Linked DNA regions of Homo sapiens: region 2 is linked to region 1. The links are contacts of gene promoters, found by promoter capture Hi-C in human tissues and cell types (Jung and others, 2019). All regions are on one chromosome and are shown on one strand. Each heading gives the region's core, a stretch centred on a gene start or on the middle of the fragment in contact. The rest is flanking DNA. Distances are from core to core; before and after follow the strand shown.

The links. Contacts are between HindIII fragments. The study calls those that stand out against the background at their distance.
Region 2: a fragment that was not itself captured here is called in contact with the fragment with the promoter of AMD1 in region 1 in 1 of the 25 tissues and cell types used here (dorsolateral prefrontal cortex).

Annotation. Positions count from the first base shown.
Region 1 is chr6:110,873,027-110,876,429 of GRCh38, forward strand. It overlaps AMD1 (adenosylmethionine decarboxylase 1), which reads left to right and starts at 1,759. Exons shown (of 9, transcript NM_001634.6): 1 at 1,759-2,189. The coding sequence starts at 2,080. RefSeq lists enhancers at 2,181-2,896, 2,897-3,403 and silencers at 2,334-2,583, 2,644-2,713, 2,744-2,933. The HindIII fragment of the contact is 7,288 bases long and covers 1-3,326 here.
Region 2 is chr6:109,491,962-109,495,364 of GRCh38, forward strand. It overlaps AK9 (adenylate kinase 9), which reads right to left. Exons shown (of 41, transcript NM_001145128.3): 39 at 3,377-3,403; 40 at 2,020-2,134; 41 at 894-1,610. The coding sequence ends at 1,408. It overlaps ZBTB24-DT (ZBTB24 divergent transcript), which reads left to right. Exons shown (of 4, transcript NR_187591.1): 3 at 2,504-2,607. Among named protein-coding and RNA genes, the nearest start is that of ZBTB24-DT, 10 kb to the left of the region's middle. The HindIII fragment of the contact is 3,021 bases long and covers 102-3,122 here.

The DNA of each region.
Region 1 (3,403 bases), core at 509-3,008:
AGCAACATTTATTATCTTTTGTCCCAATCCGCAGTTTGAGTTGGATGCTTATAAAACATGGCAAGAGGGCTGGGTGCGGTGGCCTCCCAGCACTTTGGGAGGCCGAAGTGGGCAGATCACCTGAGGTCAGGAGTTCAAGACAAGCCTGGCAAACATGGTGAAACCTCGTCTCTACTAAAATACAAAAATTGGCCGGGTGTGTTGGCATGCACCTGTAATCCCAGCTACTCGGGAGGCTAAGGCAGGAGAATCGCTTGAACCCAGGAGGCAGAGGTTGCAGTGAGCCGAGATCACGCCACTGAACTCCAGCCTGGGCAACAGAGCGAGACTCCGTCTCAGACAAACAAAACAAAGCAAGAGTAGTTTATGTACCTAGCTCACAACATAGCTTCTTTCAACAGGTTTCACGGAGACACGTGAACCACGTTCTTGTAAGACAAGAGCTATTCTACAGGGTATCTAGAGTGCAAACCCAAACCATGTCTTTTTCAGTGGATTTTTCATGTTGACATCATCTTATTTCACTTTGGGGAAAGTTTTTTTCTAAGGATGATAGCGAAAAGTCCTTTTGTCTTGTGACAATAGCAATTTTTATGTCAGCTTGGGTTTTTTTCCTCCCATATTCCCAAGTAAAAGTAATAACTTTGTTACCAGTTTTGCCATCTGAGGTTAAACTGTTTGACCATGGCTTGACGACTATTTTATACTTAACACTTATAAAATATTAGACTGATAGTTATTTAAGTTACCACCAGTGATAGCTCTGGAATCCCTGTTTTATTAATTTCCAGGTAAATCCTTCTTAAGCACATGGGAAGATAGCACTGTAAATTTTGGGGGGTAAGGAGAACCTCCATCAATTAATACATCAGCTTGATAAAATTCAAAGAAAAACATGATCAAATAAGTTCAGATTATATTTAACACATTCAGTTTCTAGAAGTAGTTTTGCTGAATAAATTCCCACCAGTTGAGCTAATGGAGCAACGGAGCTGCCAGTGCTTCCCGGAGGCTGCTGTGCTCAGCCAATTCGGAGGCATGGCGAGCCACACGGTGGGAGGTGGGTAAAGCCGGGGCCCTCCAAGGCTGGGCGCCACGTTGCTTTTCTCTTCTGAAATAGGAAGACAATGCTTCTGGCTATTGTATAAACCAGCCGAGGACTGCTTTCATTCGCACATCAGCCAAGGCGTGAGCAGAATTAAAGCGCCTTCTAATTCGACCCCTGGCAACGTGCGCGTCACGGACAAATGTTTAGTTTTAACGCCTGGCTGCGTTCGCCTTGGGAAAACACACTTTTAAGAATGGCCAAGTACCTCAGCAGTCGCGGTGAACTGCACAAGATCAAAACCACCACGCCAACCCAGCGCTGGCCACCGTCCCCGCTGAACCCCGCCAACACCCCTAAGGACCCACCCATGTTTTCTGCTAATCATTTTTTTTTTCTAAACAGCTCTGCACAGCCTTTCCTCATTCCGTTCCCGCTCTCCCCACCCACTCTGCGTTCGATCCGAGGTTTCTAGTCCCCAGCTGGACATCACAGCACCAACTCCCACTCAGGAGCCGGCCAGAGCCCGAGCCGCAGCGCAGTGGGCAGCTCCCCGCGCTCTCCGCCAGGCCCTCGGCCAGCCAGCCGCCACTCGGCCGCGAGTGATTGACAGGCGGCAGCAGCTATAGGCCGTGGAGGTGGGACGATGCGTCACTTCCTGGTCTTTTGGGGGGAGCCGGGATATATAAGGGCGGTGCTCACGCAGCGCTCTCGCTTACACAGTATGGCCGGCGACATTAGCTAGCGCTCGCTCTACTCTCTCTAACGGGAAAGCAGCGGAATACAAGAGACTGAACTGTATCTGCCTCTATTTCCAAAAGACTCACGTTCAACTTTCGCTCACACAAAGCCGGGAAAATTTTATTAGTCCTTTTTTTAAAAAAAGTTAATATAAAATTATAGCAAAAAAAAAAAGGAACCTGAACTTTAGTAACACAGCTGGAACAATCCGCAGCGGCGGCGGCAGCGGCGGGAGAAGAGGTTTAATTTAGTTGATTTTCTGTGGTTGTTGGTTGTTCGCTAGTCTCACGGTGATGGAAGCTGCACATTTTTTCGAAGGGACCGAGAAGCTGCTGGAGGTTTGGTTCTCCCGGCAGCAGCCCGACGCAAACCAAGGATCTGGGGATCTTCGCACTATCCCAAGGTGGGTCCCCGGGGCGCTCGCTGACATCCGGGCCTGGGGGCTGTCGCCGCCGCCGAGGCACCAGCCACGGGTGGAGCCCGAGTTCCCTCAGCTTTCAGTTGGGGGCAAGTCTGCGGCCTGGGGTCGCTTCGGCGGCCTTGGAAGGTGCGCGGTTTGGGGGAGAGCGGCCATGTCCACGCGGGCCGGAGCCGGCTTCTCCCGCCGTGGTTGCCGCGCCTGGCATTGCCCTGGGGGAGGGGAGGAGGCCGGCGCGGCCGCGTGCTCAGGTAACGTCCCGCGCTGGGCGGCGGGCGGCGCGGCCCGGGGTGGTTTTGCGGCCCGCGCCTCCCGACATTTCCCTCCGTAGTAGTTGGCGGCAGGGGCCCCAGGTGGGGGTCGGGGGCGCCTGCGCGGGTTGCCTCCGGCAGGTGTGGCTCGGCGGGCTTAGTCAGGCGCTAATTCGGGCGTGCCGGCTTCGGGGAATGGAGGGCGGGAGCGGCGCTTGTTCTTGCCTCGGGCGCGGATAGGAGGGGCCCTCCCGGCCTTGTCTGAGGGGCTGGCGAAGAGGCCTCCCACCCGCGGCGGCCGCGGGCAGCATGTGGCGTTCGGGCGGCGGGGATTGGGCGGGAGCAGTTATGTCGCAGTGGCGGGGCCCCACCGCTCCCCTAACATGCTCTGCGCCAGAGCCTTTTCGGGGCGGCTGGGCAGACGGCGCAGTCCCCGGGGCCGCCCTCGACACGGCCGCTGAGGCCGCTGGGGGCTGCTCCCCAATCTCTTGACCTTGGGTTGTGTAACCTGCTACGGAGCCGGCGGAGCGGGGCGGGAGAGGTGCGGGTGGAGGGAGGCCCGCCTGCCCCAGGACATAATGCCTCTAATGCCTTAAGCTTGAGCAAAGGAATCTGGGGCCCACTCCCACTGCGGGCCGTCACGCGAGAGATACTTGGGCTGACCGCGCCGAAGAGGCGTTTTAGTTGGTATTGCTGTGGAAATCCATGCTTATATAAAAGCCCAGAGATCCCGTGGATGCTTAGGCCTTGTTCCTGGCGGCGGTCGCACCGGTGGCCACCAATGGCCTTCCTAGGCCCTGCCACCGGATCCCTGGCTCCTCTGCGCACGAGTGCGGCTAGGGTGGCGGTGCAGCGGAGTAACTGGCGTGGCCAGCTTCATTGAGAGGCGGCGACCAATGGGCTCCTGGGCCGCACTCAGAGCCTGGCCCCAGGGTGTGGACCAATGGG
Region 2 (3,403 bases), core at 362-2,861, 1.4 Mb before region 1:
TGTTAGAGCTCAGAAGACAGCATCCTTGGGCTCATAAGAGTTCTCAGGGCGAAGCCATACTAGAGAACTTCATCCCCAGGAGATGTGCAGTGGGTGTGGACTTTCTCTGGAGCACATGGGACACTCCCTGGAGACCCCAAGAAACACTCAGCGGTATTCTGCAGGGACTGCTGCCCTTCGTAAAGGCAGGGGCACTGAAGCAATGAAGTTTGGGTTTAACTGCTAAAGCAAACTCATCATACCCATAGGCTGAAGAGACCTGAGAACATTTATATCTTGTCAAGAATGAAAAAGCCAGTAGATTTCAGTTGGTGATAGAAAGATGGTAAATTACAGGCATTAAGAAATGGGCAGGGAGCAAAAATGGGGCTTAAGTTGCCAGCAAAACTTGGTAGCTATTGGCAACTCCCAGCCTCCTGAAAAAGTAAAGGCTTTTGAGGTTTATCCTAACTTTGGCAATAGGCTTCCAGCTTTTGTTTAAAAATCATTTTATTATGAAATATATAATGCAAAAGATATATAAAAAGGCTTCTAGTTTTTAATTAACATTATTGAATTTATAGGGATCAAAGAGCTAAACCATTTATCGTGGAGATTAAGAAATGAAGGCTCAGAGAAATTTACCCAAGGTTACACAGTTAATGGTCATATTTTTTATTTTTTAAGAGTCAATCTTGCTGTTTCCTATTCCAGATCCTTTTATATTGCTGCTGAAAATTGTTATTTTAAAAATCTCATTAAATTCAATTTAGTAAGTTTTCTTCTAGCATATACTGAGTCATATAATGACTCTAGATTTCATCCTTCTTAAAATTCCAGGTAATTTCCAATTATAAAATAAGGTATAAAGCATGCTTCAATGAATACTTAAGAAAAAGAAAAGAGGCAGCCAGTAAGTTGTTGCAAAATCCATTTATTTTATTGGGAAAATGATAGTATCTTATGTTCACAAAGTTCACAAACAGTTTTGTATGTAAAATGTATAACCCATATTTTGGTTTCATTTATAACAATGTTAAATGTCTTAAAGCTTTCTAACATTTAATGAGTAATTTTAACAGAGACTGACTTTTCTACTGAAAATGTTAAAAAGGAAAATAATACATTTATTAAATAAGTCACTTAACTTTTCTATATGGAATTATAAATAGAATGTTTATTTTGTTAAAGCATCAAAGTTCAGGCAAAGAGCAATACATTTTAAAATTGTATTAAAACTTGTTTCCATAAGAGTGCTCCTTCCTGGCTGGCAGACCTTTGAGTTCACCTGAAGTCTGGCAGCCATGGTACCTTGCTCAGGAGGCAAAAGTACTTCCAAGAGGCCCAGATTTTCAATCTACTTCTCTCAGTTTCCCTCTATCACTTTCAGATAACTCTTGAGATTCAGGCTGCTATCACCTAAGTAAACTACCCATTAATTGGGTCTATATTTCTGAGAGAGAGAAAGGTCTTTAACTTATGATCAAAGTCAATGGCTCTGAACTGAGGTTCCTTGTATTTTCTGGTCATCTTGGCACCCAAGTATGTTATGAGTTCACAACTCTCCATAAACTGCTCCATCTTCTTCTTATACTTTTTTCTTGTGTATTCGGAACCTTTGGGATTAAATGCTGTAGAAAATTTCACAGAACTGTGAATAATTTCTGCTAGTTAGTGAGTCATTAAATGAAAGAGACCTGGATGTGTGGTTGAGTTAGTTACACAGTTATGGTTGAGAAGATATCCAAATCCCAAATAAAATCTGGAGATTATTCTGTTTTAGGTCATAATTGCCTCTATTCACCCTTCTTTATGGCATGGATTATTGACAGCTGACTGTATTACTTAGTCCCTACTTTGAAAATAGAATTTTAACTTTGACATTTTATTTAAAATATTTGCCCTGTATTGTATTTGCTACTAACACTCTCTCTTTCTCTCTCACCAAGCAGGCAACACAGTTTAACAATCCTATTCATCACTTATACTACCATTAATGTTAAATTTGTTCTGAGTAGTAAATAATTAAAAAAGACATACCTTTGAGATGAAGTGCTATATATAGCAGTGCAGATCTCCTTATACTTAAAAAGGGGAACTTGGGCTTTAAGCATCCCGCTGCATTCATTGCTTTAATTAGAGAAGTTGCAATACCCTGCAGGGAGGGAACAATTCAAATTCTGTGTATACTTGAGTTTGGTTTCTTTTCTTAGTGCCAATAGATAAACAGGCAAATATTATTTCTTTGCCTCAAATAGCCCCCTGGAGTGGGGATGGGGCTTATAAATATGGTTAGATGACCAGTTAGCCAACAGGAAAGAAATACAAAATACATTTGATTAGGAAAAATGAAAATTACAAACTGACTTAGTGTCAGCTAAGTGATGGATAGGAGTATGGGCTTCATTACACAAGTCTCTCTATTTTTATATGTTTGACATTTTTTATAACAAAAAGTTAAGAGAAGAAAGAAGGGGACCCTAGGCTTTGCGATATCTTGGCCCGTATCTGCTTTCATTCTCAGAAATGGCCAGACTGCCTCCCACTCTGAGGACCCTTGGCTACCTGACACGTAATTCCAGAGACCACAGTAGTCAGTGCTGGCAAGATTCCAGAGCCCAGAAGAAGGTAAGAGGCCCTCCTGATAAAAATTGGCCTTCATGAGAATACTCCCCTATGGGTGGGCCTCATCTGGCATTTTGATGTTAAACAAGACTGAAGGCTAACCTTATAGGCAAGTTGAAAAAATCAGAGTGGTTAAGAATTGCTGACAAAGGTTTGACATTGTGCCCTAAGCATTTATTTTGTAGACTTTTTTTAAAAAAAGCTTTAAAAATAGTAAAAATAAAATAAAATAGTAAAGATAGCAGTTGGCTGCTGCTAAGTTTTGCTATTCTTAAAAAGTTATACTTGGATAAATAAAGTATAACTTAAATAGAATAAATAAATAACAGTAAATAAAACTGACTTTATCTGGATGTGGGGCAAAATATGGGCTTTTTGGTCTGGTTGTGTCACTGTAACTCTTTTGGGTAGTCAGTGAATGATCCTCTCACGGACTGAATCTGCACATTTCAAATTATGAAAAGTTTCACAGACATTGAAATTCAAAAGTAAGAACCAAACTACATATCTAATTCAAATGGAAACAATTTTGTGGCGCTCTACTTTCTCTTCACTTTAGTGCAGATATTTGGGAATTAGCTATGGAAGCAGGGGATTTTCACACATTTTATTTTAACCACTACATATAAACAAAATAGGCTGAGAGAATTTGCAGCTTAAAATCAGAAAACTCTGCCTTGAATTTTATTGTTCCCAAAATGAAAATTAGTGTTAAAAAGAAGAAGTCATTGTATTCTTCTAACATATATAACAGAAAATTAAGTAAAAGAACCTGTTCCAGATATCCAGGCAAAGGAAG